7 separate regions of the Homo sapiens genome follow, and regions 2, 3, 4, 5, 6 and 7 are each linked to region 1. The links are contacts of gene promoters, found by promoter capture Hi-C in blood cells and fetal thymus (Javierre and others, 2016). All regions are on one chromosome and are shown on one strand. The core of a region is centred on a gene start or on the middle of the fragment in contact, and the rest is flanking DNA. Distances in the headings are between cores, read along the strand shown. Region 1 holds the start of FOXC1 (forkhead box C1). Region 2 holds the start of LINC01011 (long intergenic non-protein coding RNA 1011). Region 3 holds the start of SERPINB1 (serpin family B member 1). Region 4 overlaps MYLK4 (myosin light chain kinase family member 4). Region 5 overlaps MYLK4 (myosin light chain kinase family member 4). Region 6 has its middle 7.9 kb from the start of LINC01600. Region 7 overlaps LINC01600 (long intergenic non-protein coding RNA 1600).

The links. Contacts are between HindIII fragments. The CHiCAGO score rates a contact against its expected background, and 5 or more counts as called.
Region 2: a contact is called between the fragment with the promoter of LINC01011 here and the fragment with the promoter of FOXC1 in region 1, in 1 of 17 cell types (neutrophils). The highest score is 8.4, in neutrophils.
Region 3: a contact is called between the fragment with the promoter of SERPINB1 here and the fragment with the promoter of FOXC1 in region 1, in 1 of 17 cell types (neutrophils). The highest score is 7.3, in neutrophils.
Region 4: a fragment that was not itself captured here is called in contact with the fragment with the promoter of FOXC1 in region 1 in 1 of 17 cell types (total B cells); the score reaches 5.0 in total B cells.
Region 5: a fragment that was not itself captured here is called in contact with the fragment with the promoter of FOXC1 in region 1 in 1 of 17 cell types (M0 macrophages); the score reaches 6.1 in M0 macrophages.
Region 6: a contact is called between a fragment that was not itself captured here and the fragment with the promoter of FOXC1 in region 1, in 13 of 17 cell types (total CD4 T cells, non-activated CD4 T cells, naive CD4 T cells and 10 more). The highest score is 18.8, in total CD4 T cells.
Region 7: a contact is called between a fragment that was not itself captured here and the fragment with the promoter of FOXC1 in region 1, in 9 of 17 cell types (naive CD4 T cells, neutrophils, total CD4 T cells and 6 more). The highest score is 15.1, in naive CD4 T cells.

Annotation. Positions count from the first base shown.
Region 1 is chr6:1,608,607-1,611,337 of GRCh38, forward strand. FOXC1 (forkhead box C1) reads left to right here and starts at 1,309. Exons shown (of 1, transcript NM_001453.3): 1 at 1,309-2,731. The coding sequence starts at 1,840. RefSeq lists a silencer at 1,117-1,736 and an enhancer at 2,067-2,166. The HindIII fragment of the contact is 8,300 bases long and covers 1-2,731 here.
Region 2 is chr6:2,986,613-2,989,343 of GRCh38, forward strand. It overlaps LINC01011 (long intergenic non-protein coding RNA 1011), which reads left to right and starts at 1,355. Exons shown (of 3, transcript NR_026856.1): 1 at 1,355-1,419. NQO2-AS1 (NQO2 antisense RNA 1) reads right to left here. Exons shown (of 2, transcript NR_186367.1): 2 at 2,724-2,731. RefSeq lists enhancers at 1,297-2,106, 2,107-2,731 and a silencer at 2,300-2,719. The HindIII fragment of the contact is 2,996 bases long and covers 776-2,731 here.
Region 3 is chr6:2,840,541-2,843,271 of GRCh38, forward strand. SERPINB1 (serpin family B member 1) reads right to left here and starts at 1,323. Exons shown (of 7, transcript NM_030666.4): 1 at 1,272-1,323; 2 at 1-54. The coding sequence starts at 46. RefSeq lists a silencer at 1,218-1,267. The HindIII fragment of the contact is 1,424 bases long and covers 128-1,551 here.
Region 4 is chr6:2,727,596-2,730,326 of GRCh38, forward strand. The region is part of intron 2 of MYLK4 (myosin light chain kinase family member 4); the gene reads right to left. Among named protein-coding and RNA genes, the nearest start is that of MYLK4, 22 kb to the right of the region's middle. The HindIII fragment of the contact is 6,464 bases long and covers 1-2,731 here.
Region 5 is chr6:2,671,501-2,674,231 of GRCh38, forward strand. The region is part of intron 11 of MYLK4 (myosin light chain kinase family member 4); the gene reads right to left. Among named protein-coding and RNA genes, the nearest start is that of LINC01600, 38 kb to the left of the region's middle. The HindIII fragment of the contact is 710 bases long and covers 995-1,704 here.
Region 6 is chr6:2,641,091-2,643,821 of GRCh38, forward strand. No RefSeq gene overlaps it. Among named protein-coding and RNA genes, the nearest start is that of LINC01600, 7.9 kb to the left of the region's middle. The HindIII fragment of the contact is 314 bases long and covers 1,207-1,520 here.
Region 7 is chr6:2,624,097-2,626,827 of GRCh38, forward strand. LINC01600 (long intergenic non-protein coding RNA 1600) reads right to left here. Exons shown (of 3, transcript NR_131168.1): 3 at 1-23. Among named protein-coding and RNA genes, the nearest start is that of LINC02521, 9.0 kb to the right of the region's middle. The HindIII fragment of the contact is 3,963 bases long and covers 1-2,731 here.

The DNA.
Region 1 (2,731 bases), core at 59-2,558:
CGCCGTGCCGGGGGAGGGAGGCCTGGCTCTTTCCCGCTCCTTCGTTTCTTTCCCTCATTTCTCTTCTTCCTGTCCCATTCCAACCACCCAGCGACGGCGAATCTCAGGCGTGTGCACAACGAGCGGGGGCCCTTCCGTGCGTGTCCCCCCAGAATCCTTGAACCGCCCTCTAGGTGCGACCCTGGACGTTCCCCCAGACACACCCGTTGTCTCTGCGAGCCGGCAGCCCCGCGCATGTGGAGATGGAGACTGGCCTGGGGAAGCGTTAAGCTCTTAGACATATTTATTTGCTTCTTGTCATCACACCTGCTAATGTCACCGAGCCCGCAGCCTGACCCCTCATCTGAGCCGAAACGGGCCTGACGGGATCAGAGGGGGCGGCGGCGCGGCGAGCCGGTGGGACCCTCGCGGGCGGGCAGGGGAGCGCGGGGCAGCAGCCGGGCTCCGGCAGCCCTCGCCGCCCGCACCCTCAGGCCGCCAAGGGCCGGCCCCCCGGGGAGGGGGGCGAGAAGCAGGGCGGCCCGCAGCGGGGCGGGCTCATCCTTCGCGGGTGAACGGCCGTCGGAAACTCCCAGCAGGGCCCCGCACCCCTTGCCTTCATTTCGGCTGGGGAGGGGTCATGGAGGGGGGCCAGATGGGCGACGAACCTTCTTCCCCACCGCGAGCAGGGCCTGGCTGTGACCGAGCCCTCAAAATCATGTCCTTTGTAGCCGAGTTCAGGACAGGAGAACCTCCAAGTGGAGAAAAGCCGGAGACGTCAGTGACCCGAGTGAGACTGGCGTTGGAGAAGGGAGGGAAGGGGCTGCGGGAGGGGAGAGGCGGCGGGGAGGAGAGGCTGGGGCAACCCCAGCGCTGGCGTCGGCGGGGCTGGCGAAGGAATGAGAGCGAGCCAGCACGAGGCGGGGCGGAGACGCCAGGGCCACTCGGGAGCCGTGGGCGAAGGAAGGGTCTGCACGGGGTCCCGGGAGGACCCAGGAAGTCTGCGCGAACGGCGGGCGTGGGTCCGGAGGGCCCGGGGTGGGAGGTCTGCCGGGCGCCGGCGGCAGGCAGGTGGACTGCGGGGGGCGAACCGACGGCGGGCCGGGCGCCGGCGCGGGCGCAGGGCCGGGGCCCGGGCCAGGGCGGCCGGCGCGCGTGTGGTCAGCCCCGCGGTCCTCCGGCCTCCGGGAGCGGGCCGGCAGGGCTCGGCCTCCGGCTCATTCGGAGGCGGTTCTCACCTCCCATTGGCTGCCGCCGCTGGCGGGGCGGGGCTCCGCTGCCCGGAAAAAAGTGTAACTGCGTAAAAAAGTCCTCGCCTGGGTGACGGATGCTCAAAAGTTCAGAAGTTTTCCCAATGCTTCCTTAAGCGGCTGGCGCGCGAGAGACCGAGAAAAGGTGACGCGGGGCCCGGGCAGGCGGCCGGCGCGCGGCCCCCCCCCCCCCCGCCCTGGTTATTTGGCCGCCTTCGCCGGCAGCTCAGGGCAGAGTCTCCTGGAAGGCGCAGGCAGTGTGGCGAGAAGGGCGCCTGCTTGTTCTTTCTTTTTGTCTGCTTTCCCCCGTTTGCGCCTGGAAGCTGCGCCGCGAGTTCCTGCAAGGCGGTCTGCCGCGGCCGGGCCCGGCCTTCTCCCCTCGCAGCGACCCCGCCTCGCGGCCGCGCGGGCCCCGAGGTAGCCCGAGGCGCCGGAGGAGCCAGCCCCAGCGAGCGCCGGGAGAGGCGGCAGCGCAGCCGGACGCACAGCGCAGCGGGCCGGCACCAGCTCGGCCGGGCCCGGACTCGGACTCGGCGGCCGGCGCGGCGCGGCCCGGCCCGAGCGAGGGTGGGGGGCGGCGGGCGGCGCGGGGCGGCGGCGAGCGGGGGCCATGCAGGCGCGCTACTCCGTGTCCAGCCCCAACTCCCTGGGAGTGGTGCCCTACCTCGGCGGCGAGCAGAGCTACTACCGCGCGGCGGCCGCGGCGGCCGGGGGCGGCTACACCGCCATGCCGGCCCCCATGAGCGTGTACTCGCACCCTGCGCACGCCGAGCAGTACCCGGGCGGCATGGCCCGCGCCTACGGGCCCTACACGCCGCAGCCGCAGCCCAAGGACATGGTGAAGCCGCCCTATAGCTACATCGCGCTCATCACCATGGCCATCCAGAACGCCCCGGACAAGAAGATCACCCTGAACGGCATCTACCAGTTCATCATGGACCGCTTCCCCTTCTACCGGGACAACAAGCAGGGCTGGCAGAACAGCATCCGCCACAACCTCTCGCTCAACGAGTGCTTCGTCAAGGTGCCGCGCGACGACAAGAAGCCGGGCAAGGGCAGCTACTGGACGCTGGACCCGGACTCCTACAACATGTTCGAGAACGGCAGCTTCCTGCGGCGGCGGCGGCGCTTCAAGAAGAAGGACGCGGTGAAGGACAAGGAGGAGAAGGACAGGCTGCACCTCAAGGAGCCGCCCCCGCCCGGCCGCCAGCCCCCGCCCGCGCCGCCGGAGCAGGCCGACGGCAACGCGCCCGGTCCGCAGCCGCCGCCCGTGCGCATCCAGGACATCAAGACCGAGAACGGTACGTGCCCCTCGCCGCCCCAGCCCCTGTCCCCGGCCGCCGCCCTGGGCAGCGGCAGCGCCGCCGCGGTGCCCAAGATCGAGAGCCCCGACAGCAGCAGCAGCAGCCTGTCCAGCGGGAGCAGCCCCCCGGGCAGCCTGCCGTCGGCGCGGCCGCTCAGCCTGGACGGTGCGGATTCCGCGCCGCCGCCGCCCGCGCCCT
Region 2 (2,731 bases), core at 105-2,604, 1.4 Mb after region 1:
ACGGTCCCTGGGCTCAAGATGCCAGACAGATGTGCAAACAAGTGAAATCTGATGTGATATGTGCTTTAGTGGTGCCAAGGATAAAAGGATAAGTGTTAAGAAAAAGTAGCAACAATATGTCTGACTGGGAGAATCAAGAAAGGTGTCATAGAGTCCCTAACACTTGAGCTGAGAATGAGAAAGAGCATGAGCTGGCCAGGTGACACACAGAGCATATTCCAACCTAGGAGACTGGGAAATGGGCCAAAATATATACGTTTGAGGAAACAAATAGCTTACTATATAATTAAATATGAGGCAGTTTAGACTGGGCCCTTATGGATAAGTCACACCCATAAATTTTATTTCATCTTACAGGCAGTGGAGAGCCTCTGGAGGATTCTGAGCTTCGTGGTCTCATCATCAGAGTTATGTATGGCAACCATCCCAACCTTTTTGGCACCAGGGAGGGGTTTTGTGGAAAACTATTTTTCCTTGGACAGCAGAGGATGGTTTCGGGATGATTCAAGCACATGACACTTCTTGTGCACTTTATTTTCAGTGGGAGCCCTGAGCTTGTTTTCCTGCAACTATCTGGCCCCATGTGGGGGTGATGAAGACAACGGCAGATTATCAGGCATTAGATTCTCATAAGGAGCGCACATCCTAGATCCCTTATGTGTGCAGTTCACAGTAGGGTTTGTGCTCCTATAAGAATCTAATGCTGCCTGATCTGATAGGAGGCAGAGCTCTGGTGGTAATGCAAGCAATGGGGAGCAGCTGCACATACAGATAAAGCTTCACTAGCTCACCCACTGGTGGCTCACCTCTTGCTGTGTGTCCTGGTTCCTAACAGGCTACAGACCAGTCAGGTCTGTGGCCCGGGGGTTGGGAACTCCTGGTGTATGGAAGAGACTACTCTGCAGCAATGTGGACAAATAGGATGAGGGTGAGCTGTCAGGGGAGACAGGCACACATGGCAGAGCTATTTAAAAAGGAGGATAGATGACCAGGCACAGTGGCTCATGCCAGTAATCCCAGCACTTTGGGAGGCAGAGGCAGGCGGATCACGAGGTCAGCAGTTCAAGACCAGCCTGGCCAACATGGCAAAACCTCATCTCTGCTAAAAATACAAAAATTAGCTGGGCGTGGTGACATGCGCCTGTAATCCCAGCTACTCAGGAGGCTGAGGCAGGAGAATCACTTGAACCCGGGAGGCAAAGATTGCAGTGAGCCGAGATCGTGCCATTGCACTCTAGCCTGGGCAACACAGCAAGACTCTGACTGGAAAAAAAAAAAAAAAAAAAGGAGGATAGACAGGGCTTGGGGATTGGTGGATGGGTAGATAAGGAAGGAGGAGTCTAGCATGACTCTCAGACTACTGACTTGGACCAGCAGGGGAATGGCTGTGACAATAAATAAGATTGGGAAAACAAGAAGGTGAGCAAATTTAGAGGAGAAAATGAATTTCATTTTTGGCATGGTGTGGAAGGCTCGGGAGAGAGGTCTAGGCACCAGATGTCAACGTGAGGTGAAATGGATATAGCTGAAGTCAAGGGTGTGGTGAGGTTTTGCAGGGAGAGCAGGGACCTCCAGCAAGGCCAGTGCATAAGGGAGAATAGAGAAAAAAAGAACCAGAAAAAGACAAGGAGAGGCCAGAGAGGTGTGGAAAGAACCAGGGAAGACAGTTATTCACAACAAACAAAAGAGGGCAGAGTTTTAGAGAAGGAACTGAGCAGTTTGGGGCTCCAGGTGGGGCAGGAGTGGGTGGCCACGGTTGAGGGGCAGTGGCCTTCAAATTGGTCTGGGTAGGTTCTAATGGGTCAGATTGGTCAGTCCTTTCCAGGACACTGAAGGCTGCAGAGGTGTGACTGGATGCTGGTGGAGGGATGCATGGCGGGGAAGCTGAGTCAGATCCTGAAATCCTCCAAGCATGCGCCTGAAATGACCAAGGGAAATGAAGGCGGAGGCTGCTGTCGCCTGGTGGCCTGGGAAGGGCCAAGAGCCAGGGAGCTGGAGGGAGGAGAGAACGTGCGACCTCAGCACGGAGCACTGTAGGGGAGGCGGGGCTGGAGGGAGATGGCGCCGCGCTCCCGGATGAACAGAGAAAGCGACAGGGTGAGTCGCAGGGCACAGTGTGGGATGAGTCACCGACAGCAAGGCATGGACTCCGGGAAGAAGGGGAGACGAGCCGGGAAAGACTTGCATCGGGGATGTGAGCTGAGCTGCACCCAGACAAAAGCGGCTCGGGGCTCCTGAAAGCAGCAGGCACCGCCGGTCCTGCCAAGGGGCTACTTCCTGCGCGGAGTAGGAGAGTAGGAGACCCCAGGCCAGTCCCAATCCCCGGCCCGTCCGGGATGAGGGGGGCTGCGGGAGCTGCGGGGGCCTCCTCCAGGGAGGACGGTTGCAGGGTCCCTCGGCCGCCGCCCACTCCCGGGGGCGTTCCTTCCTCCCAGCTGCGCCCGGAGCGCCTGCTGCCTGGCGAGAGCCCGCCCCTCTGCAACCAGCCCGCTGCAGCGGAGGGCGCCTGGGTGCCCTCGGCCGAGCCAGCAGCCCACGGTCGGCGCCGCACTGTCCCCTGGTGGCGGAGCGCTCCCGCGACCCGGCTCGCCACGCCTGGGAGGGGTCCAGGAGGACGCGGCTGGGACCTGGGGGCTCTCAGGGTGGGGCCTTGGGGGATGAGGCTGGGGCCCGCGGGAAACCGGGCTGGGGCGAGGAGGCTCGCAGGACTTCCTGCCACAGAATGTTTCGA
Region 3 (2,731 bases), core at 73-2,572, 1.2 Mb after region 1:
ACAGGTCCAAGGCGAAGCGGGTGTTTGCTGAGCTCAGCTGCTCCATGGTGAAAACTGCAACACAGAACAGGGTCCTCATGGTGCCCACTGCCCACGCCAGCAGATTAGGCAGCACTATTTCTCCAGAAGCTTCCTCAATTTCTGCCAACCGCCCTGAGGCATCCTGGATCTTGTACTTTCTCCCCGCTTTTTTATTCCAGCAGGGCAAGAACACTTTCCCAGGCCCACAAATGTGGGACCATTCTGGCCAAGGACTCAGCAGTTATAGGGGATTTTAGGGCACCCAGGGTGCCCTAAAGGGCTCTGACCTTGCAGACAGGTGAGTCTGGGGGTGGGGCGGGGGTAAGGCAGGCCCCAGCTACCCCAGCTTTAGTGGGGTGGGAGGGCCCACCCAGCCCTGGGTCTTCCCAACCTATGTGTGGGAGCGCACGTGCTTCTGAGCCTTTGATTCAAGTCTCTGATTCATTGGGCAATGAATCCATTGCCTACCTTCACCTGAACTAAGAGCCTTCTATCAGAGACTCAGCTACCTACTATGCATTAAAACTCCAGCAAAGGTATCACTGTAATTATTATAATAATATAATTCTTCCTTATTTTTGAGGTTCAAAAGGTATGAGGTCCAGTGCCCACAGTCTCAGAGCCGGTGTAGGATGTGCCAGTTTGGAAACCCACCACAGTCCAGGGTCTGGCCGTGCAGCGTCCCATCCGCCACCCACTAGCCCATCTCGATCTCCACTCTCAGAGCCCTGATTTCCCCCGAGGACAGGCAAAGAAGAACCGTGCTGGCTGCTCGGCATGTAAGCACAAAGCTGATTTCTCCTTGTTGTGAAATCGTCTCTAGAATCGCACGGGGTTCCTCCTCTCTCTCCCTGCAGCTGCAGATAGGAGCCGCGGCCTGGCCCTGGGCTGCCTGGAAACCGTCACAAACAGCTCTGGGAGGAAGGGAATTCAGGGAGAAGGGACAACATTCTGATCTCAGGTTTCAGTCTTGCCTTCCGCCTGCATCTGTCGTCCTCCCTCCCTCCCTCCCTCGCGGGCTGGCCCGGCCTGTACCCAGGCGGGGGCGGGGGATCAGAGGTCGTCTGTCTCCGTCGGGGCGCCCGGAAGGGATGGGGGCGCGAAGCTGGCGGGGAGGGCGAGCGCAGGGAGCTGCGGGTCTGAGGGGCCTGAGCCTGGGGGGTGGGGGGTGCCGGGCTGGAAGCTGAGCGAGGGAGCCTGGCCTCTCCCCGCGCCCGCCCCCGCGCCACCGCTCCGAGGCCCGGCCTTACCCGACAGGCCGCCGAGGCACGCTCCGGGCTCCGAGCTGGGTGCGAGGTCAGGAAGGAGGCACCGAGGGCCGCTGCTCTTATAGCAGGCGGAAGCGTCACCCGGGCCAGCAGCCGCGGGCGGGGCGGCGGCCCTTCCCGGTGACTGCGTAGGAGTCCGAGCTCCCGAGGTCGCCTAAGTGCAAGCAGAAGTGAGCGTGGCTTCCGGGCAGCGCCCTCCTCAGGGGCGCGGCTTCTTTCTCAGTTCAAAGCCTTTCCCCGAATCTCTGGCAAGGACCTGAAAAGCTTTTTCTTACTAAGGTGTGAATGACTGAGACGACATATTGTGACACCTCTTAGAGGGCAAATGACTCCCTTTGAGTCCCATCTATATTGGGAGCTTTCTTTGAGAGAAGGAAGCAAATTTGGGGATCTTGCACAGGGAAAAAGAGGGGCCCCCAGAATCAGATGAAACAGAACCAGTTCCAAACACCTGCTCTCTGTTTCCAAGATGACAGCTTGCTGCTGCGTCCTCAATGGTGGAAAGTGGAAGGGCAAAAGGGGCCAAATCTCATGTGAAGTCTCTCGTATAAGGGGCCAATCCCATTCATGAGGAAGGTGCCCTCATAATCCAGTCACCTCCTAAAGGCACCACCTGTTAGTATTGCATTGAGGATTGTTTCAGCATGAATTTTGCAGGGAACACAGACATTCAAAGCATAGCATTCTGCCCCTGCCCTCCAAATTCATACCCCTCTCACATGCAAAATGCATGCATTGTATCCCAGTGGCCTCCAAAGTTCCAGTATCAACTTTAAAATGTAAGTCCAAAGTCTCACCTAAATATCTTCTAAATTAGAAAGGCATAAGATTCAAAGTACAATTCATCCTAAGTGAAATTCCCCTCCAGCTATGAGCCCGTGAAATCAAATAGGTTACAGGCCTTCAAAATACAGTGATGAGACAGGCATAGGACGTACATTCCCATTCCCAAAGGGAGAAGCAGGCAAGAAGAAAGGAGTATCTGGTCCCAAGTAAGTCCAAACCCAACAAGGCAAACAGCATTAAATCTTGGGGCTTCAGAATAATCTTCTTTGATGCTGTGTCCCCCATTCCGAGCACAGGGGGGTGGAGACTGGGTCCCCTAGTGTCCAGGGGATCCACTCCCATGGATTTGCCAGGTGCAACCCATGCAGCAGCTCTCACAGGTTGAGGTCTAGGCTCTCCCAGGATAGACTTGCATGCTGGTGGCTGGACAGTTCTGGGTTCTCAGGGACAGCCCTGTTCCCACAGCTCCACTAGATATTACTCTATTTGGGGCTCTCTGCAGTGGCCCCAATCCCACTGCTCCACTAAACATTGCCCTAGTGAGGGTTTTCTGCAGCAGCCTCACCTCAGTGACAATTCTCAGACTGGGCCCCCAGGGTCCCCAACACATCCTTCAAAATCTAGGTGGAGGTGGCTGTGTCTCCACAGTTCATGCA
Region 4 (2,731 bases), core at 99-2,598, 1.1 Mb after region 1:
CATAGGCCTGGAACAGGGTTCTAAAATAAAAACTAATAAGACGGTTCATATCTCATCATCATCATTATTATTAATAATAGCTATCATTCACGCCTGTAATCCCAGCACTTTGGGAGGCCGAGGTGGGCGGATCACGAGGTCAAGAGATAGAGACCATCCTGGCCAATGTGGTAAAACCCCGTTTCTACTAAAAAGACAAAAATTAGCTGGGTGTGGTGGCGCATGCCTGTAATCCCAACTACTCAGGAGGCTGAGGCAGGAGAATCGCTTGAACCCGGGAGGCAGAGGTTGCAGTGAGCCGAGATCACGCCACTGCGCTCCAGCCTGGGCGACTGAGCAGGACTCCGTCTCAAAAAAAAAAAAAAAAAAAAATGCTATCATTTACTTAGGGCTTACAGTAGCCCTGGTATAGCCCTTATTTAATGCTCACCTCAACCTTGTATGGGCTCCATTTTCCCCCATTCTACACACAATTAAACTGAGGCACGGAAAGGATAAGTAATGAGTACAAGGTCACTGAGGCAGTAGGTAGCAGAGCTGATATCTCTATTTTTAAAAGTGATCCAGGTACCACAGTTTGAAAAACAAAGGTCCCAACAAATGGCATCAGACATTGGGCAGCAAATACTGCTGCAGGACTTTGTATATGTTTCTCCTTATTTGTCTTTAGGTGTTTTTCGTATGTAAGACACAGGCAGTGCAGGGGAACCTTACTGTTTTCTACAGAATGAGAGGGGTCTGAGTCCCCGTCTCTCTGAAGAAACCACTTTTGTGTCTTTTATTTAACTCATCATGTATTGTCTGAAGAGTTTTATTAAAAAAAACAAAACAGTCTGATGATGCCCAGCCCTGGAGAGGTGGGAGCTCCTTTGCCAGGATCTCTGTGTCCCGCAGCCGACCTGCCTTGGCATCCTCATCTCCTGCCACTTCCTGTTTTACCCCATGTGCTTGCTGGTCCCTGAATTCTCTTCCATCTGTCTTTCCTCATCCTCCTGGCCCCAGTGGCTCCCCAGCCATGCCCAGAGAGGTTGGCACTCCAGCTGAGGCTGCAGCTGGGAGGCCCGTGGAGGCCACAGAATGTGTTTTCCTTCTGTCCTTCTGTCCTAGTTATCACAGTGACCAAAATTTCACCAACCTGGAAACCAAGCACATTTACATCTGCTTTGACTTGATCTGTCAAACCAATCTGTCAAGCACCCACCTCCCAATAACAGGGTCCCTGGCATCTCTTTCTTCTTCCATCCACACCCACCCCAAGAAGCTATCTCTGCTGCTGACCTCAGAGGAAAGAGAGCTGAGAATCTCCACGGTGGATGGCAGATCCTGGCTTTCTGTGTCTCTGCCTTCTGTTGCTACCTCCCCATTTTGCTATCATAGGGCTTGGCAATAGAATGGAGTCTTTGCTGGTTGCTATGTGTACACACATGCCATGGTTCAAGGAGATACCCACTCCCTCCTGGCTCACTGTCCACCAACTGTGCTCACGCTTGGGATCCCAAGGTTCCAGCTCTTTAGCTCACACTCCTGCAAAGCCACAGTTATGACACACACTTCATGTGCCAGCCCCACTTACAGGCCATGCCCCTATTATCATGCAAATAAAAATACAGGATATGCAGCAAATTTCAAAGACTCCATTCTATTGCTCAGCTATAGTGCCAACCTCTCTGGGCATGGCTGGGGAGCCACTGGGGCCAGGAGGATGAGGAAAGACAGATGGAAGAGAATTCAGGGACCAGCAAGCACATGGGGTAAAACAGGAAGTGGCAGGAGACGAGGATGCCAAGGCAGGTCGGCTGTGGGACACAGAGATCGTGGCAAAGGAGCTCGCACCTCTCCAGATACGCAACAAATAACTTTGGTTTGTGTACTGATTATTACAAACTTATACTAAACACGATCCACCATTATCTGATATTCCAGTTTCACCAAGGGGCCCTGTATTTTTTCCCTTAGTTCCCCAACCCTAAACCCTGCCTGCCGCAGGGGGCCAGGCTCCCTCAAGGAGTGTTTCTCTTCTGCCTCTCAGGATGCTTTCCAGACTGGACTTTAGTGGATCAGATGTGTTTTAGTGACTTTGAACCTCACTGGGGAGGGGGTGAAGGCCTCATGCTGTTTCTCTCAAGGAGGCATTTTTCAGCATTTACCCACCAAGACCATTGGGAGAGAAGTTTCTGACAACCTACAAAGAACCCTGTTAGGACCTATATGAAGGCAGTGGCTTCTGTGATCTTTTTTCATTTATATAAGCAAGAAGGGTGGCTGGAGCAATCCCTCCCAGCTGGGCCACTGGGCCGAAAGCAACTTCTTCCCTCCATCCAGACAGAAACACAGTTGGCGGTCTTCAAACGCTGGATTTTCTCCCTAAAGCACATCGCCTTACTGAAAAACTCACTATACTTCCTTTAAAACTTCATGATCTGGGGTCTTTCAGATAAAATGTCAGTGGTTCGACAATAATGAATGGACAGGTAGCTAAGAACAGCGTGCTGGGGAAGCGTTCCGCAGGCCATCTGCCTGCAGCATGTAGTTCACACCCTCCATGGAGCTGCCCTTTGGGGAGGTGAGGGGCTGAAAGCAAGCGTGTGCTCCCTTGGCCAAACCCAAGGAGGGGAAGCGCTGTCAGCTGGCCAAGATGTGAGCCAACAGGGCACGTAGAAGGATATCCCTCCCAATCTACTGCCCCCAAGGGAGCCCCTCTTTTAATTTTGTGCCTGCTGGCTTGGAGTGA
Region 5 (2,731 bases), core at 100-2,599, 1.1 Mb after region 1:
CAGACACACCGGCCAACCTCAGAGTCCATCTCAGAGTCCACTCTCCCCTGAGGCCCCTGTCACACGACCCTTCCTTCTCACTTAGAGTCAGGGCCAAACAGCTCAGCACCTCATCACACTCAGGTATGTTTTGCAAAAACTCACGCGTGTATAGCACAAGAATGCTCTATCACTTGCGATACTGGGGCTACGATGACTGCAAAGATGAGTCAGACACAGAAATGGCTTCTTCCAAAAGTTTTCAAATTGAGTAGACAACGGTAATGTGAATTCCACAAAGAGATTCAAGAAGACAGAGAAAGAGTCTCCAGTTTGAGGATTGGAAAAGCTGGGGCATTTAATACAGGCCTTAGACAAGTACTGACTTGTGGGCTGCTCTAGAGGCAGCAGTGAAGACGAGACTCAAAAGAAGAGCTGGGGGTGTCCTGGAGCAGGCCCTGACTGCAACCGGGTTGGGTCTAGTGTGGACAATGGGAAACGCGTGAAGATTTTTTCAGTCAAGGTCTGAGCTGTAATTAAGGAACTAATGATTTGATAGATTAGGGAAGAGGGTGAGTAGAGGTTGGATATCAGCTCATGGGTTGTTTTATTAGTTCACTGAGAGGGCATGAGCCGAGGTCACAACACTGAGAATGGGAAGGAAGGGTCAGAGGCTTCTTAGCTCTGGGGGAAAGAAAACATGTCAAATTTGTGTCGTGTTCCTTCCTCTGGCCCCAGAACCCTGGCTAATTCTGCAGTAGGTGCTGAGTTCTAGTAGATTCCTAATTTGGGAGTGCTTTGCCCCACCCCAGCTGAGAGCTGCTTCTGATGGAAACAGGTTATACACAGAGGGTTGGGGACGTAAGAAAGGCTGCAAACCATCGCATGTCACCTTGAGCATAATACAGAGGGCAGAGAACTCTCGGATGTTAACTTCTAAGAAAAAAAAATCCTTCTTAAATTTAGTGACAGTCAATATGCTACTCAAGTGGTTACAAAATAGTAAGTGCTTTTAAGCTTGAAGCAAAAGAGACAAATAAAAATATACGAAAGACTCAAAAATAGAATTTAGATTGAAATGGTAAACAGTTTTGGATCAGAATTAAATTTTCAACTTAAAAGTAAATTCTGATTTTGTAGAACCAATATTAATCTAAAAATAAGCCTTCTGGAAAACTTTCGTCTCAATATTTCCTTGAAAAGTAAGATATACTAAGTTTGAATATTGATTTTCAGTAACACTAAAACTGTATGGTACAAGAAAGGCTCTGGAAGCATCGCTCAGGTCCCCTGTACCCAGCAGCCCATCACCGGCAGGAGAGCAGAGCAGTGAGGCTCTGCCCGGACTCCAGAGCTCAGCCCTGTCCTGAGTGTTCTCAGCTACAGACACTAATGTGCCCATTTTGTGCGTTGCTATGAGGAGTCAGTGAGTTATTTTTTGTAAAGCAGTTAGAAGAGTACCTCCACAATACTGTATAATTATAGCTGTAATAACTAGATTTATAAAATGAAATTTATTTTTCATTAAAAAAAACCCATCATCACTCTTGAACTATCTATTCACCTCAGGTACCAGCAGATGGATGGATACAAAAGGTGATTTTACTTGTTGTTATATGGTTTAAAAAATATTCTTAAACACTTTTTAAACTGTACAATGTCATTAATTATCTGCTGTGGTTTCTATACTATCCTGCCATGTCAAAGTGTATTTGGACACCAATAAGCTTGGATAAAAATACATCGGTGGAAAATTGGCTCAAAATAGGTTAGTAACCCTAATAAGCAGTTTATGTAGTCTGGGTGAGGTACCCACTAGGTAATAAGTCTATTTTTACTTGACATCAGTACCAATTATCAAGGAAAGGTATATTCAGACACAAATAAAACTTAGTGCCGATGCTGAATTTAGAAGTAAAGTTAATTTCAATAAAAACTGGATGTGGAAAAAGTGAGTACCTAAGGCATAGTCATTCCAAGGTTTGTTGGTCAGTGAAAAAGTTCCATTCCAAAACCTCAGGAAATGGAGAGGATGAGGAGCAAAGGTGGAAGAAACAAAAACGTATCAAACCCATGCTATACCAGGGCAGGGCACCAGCCACCCTAACTGATAGGTACATCAGACAGGTCCTGGTGGGCCCAAAGGTTGGCATGGCGTCTTGCCTGTATATGCATCTTGCCAGTTGAACATCCTAGATGTTCAGTAAAGTTACTTGGGCATTACACATCTGTTTCTGTGTTAATTATATAATCCACAATTATTTGGATGGAGACAACATGAAGGAGGCAGAGAAGCCAGTTAGGAGGCTGCAGTCACTCAGGGGAGGCATGTCCCAGGCCACGGTCACCATGGGAATGGAGAGAAACAGACAGCTTCCAGAGGTAATTAGGGGATATCATGTACACAACATGGAGGTAAATTAAACATGAGATGGGGGCTCGAGGGAGAGGAAGGAAGCAAAGAAGATGTACGGGGGCTGGCTGGGGCCGCTCCATGGGCATCCTTCCCTAAGAGGATCACTGATGGTGAGGCAAGGGGCAGGGAGATGAGATTAGTTTAGGGATGGGAAGATCCTGGTGGAAACATCTAGTACACAGATGGACATATGGATCTGCAGCTTAGGAAAGATATCTGTGCCAAAGAGACAGATGAGGAAGTCGGAATATAAACATCTGGTAATTAAGGCAATGAGAGTAGGTGAAGATTTCATTGTAAGAAGTTATTACAGAGAGTGGGCTAGGTTATTCACAA
Region 6 (2,731 bases), core at 114-2,613, 1.0 Mb after region 1:
CGAACATTTTAAAAGAAAATAATGGAGCAAAGATTCTTTGACTTTGGGCAGTGACTAGTGGATTTCTGAGAGAGTCGTGATATTTTAGGCAGTTCTAAAGTAAAAGCACAGAATATAACCACAAAGACCTGAAAGCCAAAACCGAGAGGAGAGTCTTCTGAAGCCTTTCCGGCCATCTGGTTTCCTCCTCAACACTCAGTGCCCATGAACTTTCCTCCTCCATCCTCGTTAAGTACTGCTCTCCATGTATGAATGTAGTTAATTCACCCCAAAGAGTAAATCACCACTGAGAACCAAAGTGATATGTTTTCTGGAATGTTCACACATGACCCCTCCTCTCCACACTCATCAATACACATGCACACACCACACACACGCACAAACACACAGATGTAGACCCACGTCCCCACACATGCTTGCACTCATACACACAAGGGTGCACGCACGCATCCACATGTACACCATGCACACATGCATGCACACACACAGACAGGCACACACACACACACACACGCACGCACAAACATGACTAGGACAGCAGGCTGCTCTCCTAATCACCGTGGTATAAATCGCCTCTTTTCTTCAAGTCTCAGAAGGTTAGTTTCCTTTTTGCCTTTTTAAAACCATCTGCTCTTCCCCCTAAATTAGCTATATCCCAGGGCTCATCTCCTATAACTTCTCCTAAAAACAAGTCTATAAGACTTTTTCATTTCAGAGAACTTAAAAAAAAAAAAACAAGGAAATAGACAAGGTGGTAGGAATGACAAGTGTGGGAGAGAACAGAGAGTCAAAAAAGATGGAAATTTCTTTTCCCGTGGTTCCCACACTCCTAATTGCCTTTTCTAGGAGATTAGAAATATTCACCTACCTCTGGCTCCAGTGTGTTTCCTAGTGGCTGGCTGGGAAGCCCAGCAGCTTCAGGTCTTTCATTTCATTCCTGCAGGTAGAACTCACTCCTCACCCCACCCCATTCTCTTCCATTCACTCGTCCCTACATCCTGCAGGATGCGTGTGTCACAAAGGTTCCCTTTTTAGCATCTCTGTTTGCAATGTTAGGCATTTACTCGCACTGGGCTTACAGTTTCTAGTTAAAGGATCAACTCTACCAGGGCAGAAAGCATTTTGGCCATCAACCAAGAGGGGAGGGAGGATTGAGTGACCTGGACCTTTTCCGTGTGCTCCCAGGATAAGGGAGGACAAATGGAAAGCTTCCTTCCTATAAATGCTACATGGGCCAAGATAGTGGAGGGGAATACTTCACAGCAAAGTAACTCTCAACACTTACTAATTAAGCACGTGGCAGTGCCATTTATTAAGTCTGGTAGGAATGGTTAGAGGCTCCACAGCTTAAAAGAAAAAAAGTAGTAATATTGAATAGTTCTATTTATGTCAAACTATGACAACATATTAATGTCAAAATGTGCAGCCAGTCTGTCACCATTTGAGGTTACTAATATGTCTGCAAGGCCCTTTAAGAACAGTTGTTCCCAGCAGTGGAGAACATGTGGCCCAGTCTAGGAAGCTTCAGCCCCAGTTCTGCCAAAAGGAATGCAAGGCAATTGTGCAGCCACTCTGTGCCTCAGATCTTATCTGCAAATTGAGGGGAATAACATCGGCCTTAGGGTCGGTGCATCCCTTAAGAATATTTCAGGGCTGGGCATGGTGGCTCATATCTGTAATCTCAGCACTTTGGGAGGCTGAGGCCAGCGGATGGCTTGAGCCCAGGAGTTCAAGACCAGCCTGGGCAACATGAAATGGCCTCGTCTCTACAAAAAATACACAAATTAGTCAGGTGTGGTGGTGCATGCCTCTAGACCCAGCTGCTAGGGAGGCTGAGGTGAGCGGATTGCTTGATCCCAAGTCAAGGCTGCAGGGAGCCAGGATCATGCCACAGCACTCCATCCTGGGTGACAGAGCAAGACTTGTCTCAAAAAAATAAAAAAAAGAATATTTCAGGATATTGCTTAACAACAATGTTAGCTGAACAGTAAGTGCATGAAAAGGTACTCAACATTAAGCCACACTGAGATAGCGCTATACCCCTACTAGAATGGCTAAAGTTAAAAAATTGAGTATATCATGTGTTAATGAGGAGGAGGGGCAACAGGAACTCTTCTATACTCATGGCAAATTGGCACAACCACTTTGGAAAACTGTGTGGCCATATGTACTTAACCATGACCCAGAAATTCACATCTGGGTATTTACCCAAGAGAAATGACTGCTAAGTTTATGCAAAGACTCAAATGCGAACGTTCATGGCAGCATGATTCAAATAAGCAAGAACTGGAAAGAACCCAGGGGCCCATCAGCTGCTAAATAAATAAAGTCTGGGATATCTATACAATGAAACTACTGAGCAATAGAAAGGAACACAGCATTAACACAAGCCACAGATGAATGGAGCTCAAAACCATTCTGCTCAGTGAAGGAGTCAAACACACAGCATTACATATCACTTGATTCCATTTATATGAAAGTCTAGAAAAGGCAAAGCTATAGTGGCATAAAGGTCCTTAACAGTTGCCAGGGGCTGGGGCCAGGAGAGGGGATCGGCTACACAGGGACTCAAGGAAATTTCTAGGGTGATGAAAATGTTCCAGATCTTGATTGTGGTGATGGCTGCTCTATAAAATAACCAAAACTCACCATACCGGGCACTACAGTGTGTGTTAACTGTACCGTGTGTGTATTTCAAATGCCTGAATTTTATTATATGTAAATAATGCCT
Region 7 (2,731 bases), core at 80-2,579, 1.0 Mb after region 1:
GCCGTTCCTCAGAGGCAACTTCCCTGCAGAAAAGGGAGACAGAGGCAGAGCGTGGGTCAGAGCCACACGCCCGTGCTCGGGCGCTTTACATTGATTTCATGTCTGCCCTAGACAGCAGATTCGTCTCTGGATTTTACTGACGAGCAGACGAGTGCTCAGAGAATTTAAAGTCAGACAGTGAACGACTAGCGTTGCTGGGAGCCCAGCCTTAGGAGGGCTCAGGCCTCTGTGCTGGCTACTCCTGGAGAGTTGAATTTCCCAGAACAAGGGCAGCGTGGGGGCGGGAGGGAGAGCGGAAGGGATCCAAGGGACATGGGTGCTTTGTGAATGAAGTCAAGTCACACAGTGCATTCGTCCAATATTCTAAGACTTCCTTTTGAGAAATGGAATATTTTGTTATGCGTAGTGCTGGCCTGTGTGCGATAAAATTAAAAGGGAAATCTGGGCTTTTGGTTATTTTTCCAGAAATGGCCATTCTGGGATTCTCAGGACCTAAATCAAACTGGGCCTTCCCTCAGAGAAAGCAAAGGCCTCAGAGATGCTGGTGGCTGATGCAGCTCCCCAGTGCCACCCCACGGCTCCCCATGACCCAATCCAATCCCACCAATGCCCACAGTCCGGAGGCAAGAAGCAGGACACTTTATCCCCTTTGATGCAAGTGAAAAATGAGGTTCAGAGGGGTTAGCAGATTTCCCCCAGTAGCGGGATTTCATCCCAAGTTTCCTGACCACAGGTTTCTACTCTAGCATGGTGCACTGAGAACGGGCCACGTGTTCATCTTGAGGGCCTGAGAGAGGGCTTGTTGTTGAATGGGGAATCTGGGATCCTCTGAGTCTCTGTCCCAGGACTGAAGGATCCAAATTTTCTTTCCTGTTCCTGAGAGAAGAGCCCAGTGCAGCTCCCCAAGCCTGCCAGATGGGCCTAGACATAGGGCTGGGAGATCCAAAGAGCCCTGTGACATTGAATACCTCCAACAAGGTGAACACGATGCATTCATGTTTCTGCAGAAGTGAAAACTCACCCTTGGAGCTGCCCAGGAAGCAAATGCAGTGGCTTTTTCCCCCTGGAAAATCGACCCATGTTGAAGTTTGCCATACAATGAGTATAGCAGCATGCTGCCATTCATTTAATTAAAAATAGCAAAAATGCACCGGGCTCTCAATCATCTATGTTCCCAACAAGAAACTGCGCTGAGACAATCTTCAAAATGGCACATCCCTCACCGCCGAGATTATCTCTATTCCTGAACATGAATGGCAAAGAAAAGAAGCCAAGGCCAGAAGGAAAAGGGAAACCCTTCAGACCACACAGGTGTGTTTCTGTTTCGTCCTCTTTCACAGGGAAGTTCGTACAAAAACAAACAGCACATAAAAATACAACCTCAAGACTTGTATGTTTGTTCCAGCTCTGTCCCGATTTGCATTCCTGTTTTGATTCGTCTTTGCAACATCCTGGGCCTATGATAGTGATTTTTCTTTTCTTCCTAGCAGATTTTCTACTCTTTTGAAGTTAGGAAATGTCCATGGTTTCTTTCAAGCATCTTTGGGTGAGATTTTTTTTCTTTTTTCTTTTTTTTTAAGAGTCAGAGCAGGAAAAGGCCATTCAGCTTATCTTGTCCACTTCCTGAAATCCAAACAAACTCTCAGAAAACTGCCTCACACCCTATCCATTTAGCATATGTCTCAGTACTTGGACAGGAGATTTCAGAGCCATTTCGACTTTATAAAAACTTTTGGAACTGGTTTGAATAGCCTCCAAAGACTTTGAGAAATAACTTAGAAAGTTTGAGACTAAAATTGGTGTGGTTAGTTCCCTCCTAAGGAAATGATTCAGAAAAAAATCCTTTCTTTTCTCAGAGAATTCCATCCAAGTTGGCTGCCCAAAACTTCCCAGCAAACTGATGGCTGATATTTTCAAACTCTTGTCCAAATTCTATTTACCCGTTGAGTGGAAGATCTCGGCCTATTCTTAGAGCTTCCTTTACCCTAACTGAAAAATGGGTTGCGTGATTTGCATGTGATAAAAATGAAGGCTCTTAAAGGAATCTATAATACTTGCCCGCATCAAGTAAAATGTAGCTTAGACTCATTTACAGAATATTAGCGTTCTCACTACGCAAAACAAACAAAAAAGGTAAGAATTTCAGCGCAAACTTCCCCACCAAAATAGTCAAAGCTATCTATCTTAAAAAGCAGTTACCAGAAAGCAGGTGATCTGTACAAACCAACTAATTTTCCAAACACAGTACCATCTCTTGGTGAATACTCAGTGCCTCTCCTAACAGATTTTTTTCCCATTCCAATGTGGAAAAGCAAAAATGTCCAGGAAAGCATATTGCTAACGACTAGGGAGCAGGAAACAGACAATGACGAATTTTCTCATTCGACAGACGGTCTTAGACCATACCTGCTGTGGTCTTGGGAACATGACAAACTGTGGGTTTGTGTGAGTAAGTTCTCAAAGCCACTGCCATTCTGATAAAATTAACTCAAATGGCCATGTTGCTGAATCAACGCGGTTACTCTAGAGGCCTGTGAGGGTTGTGTCCAGTGCTTGCCACCAGGAATCTGTTCGTTGTTATCAGTCCAGACAGTAAATGTATTCATCCATCAACCCTGGCTATTCATGTGGAAACCCTAAGCCAACACTCATCAGAGGAGTCAGGCTGGGCCTGGGCCACAGAGTGAGCCCAGCCTTACAATGTGGGATTTTTTTTTTTTTTTAAATCACA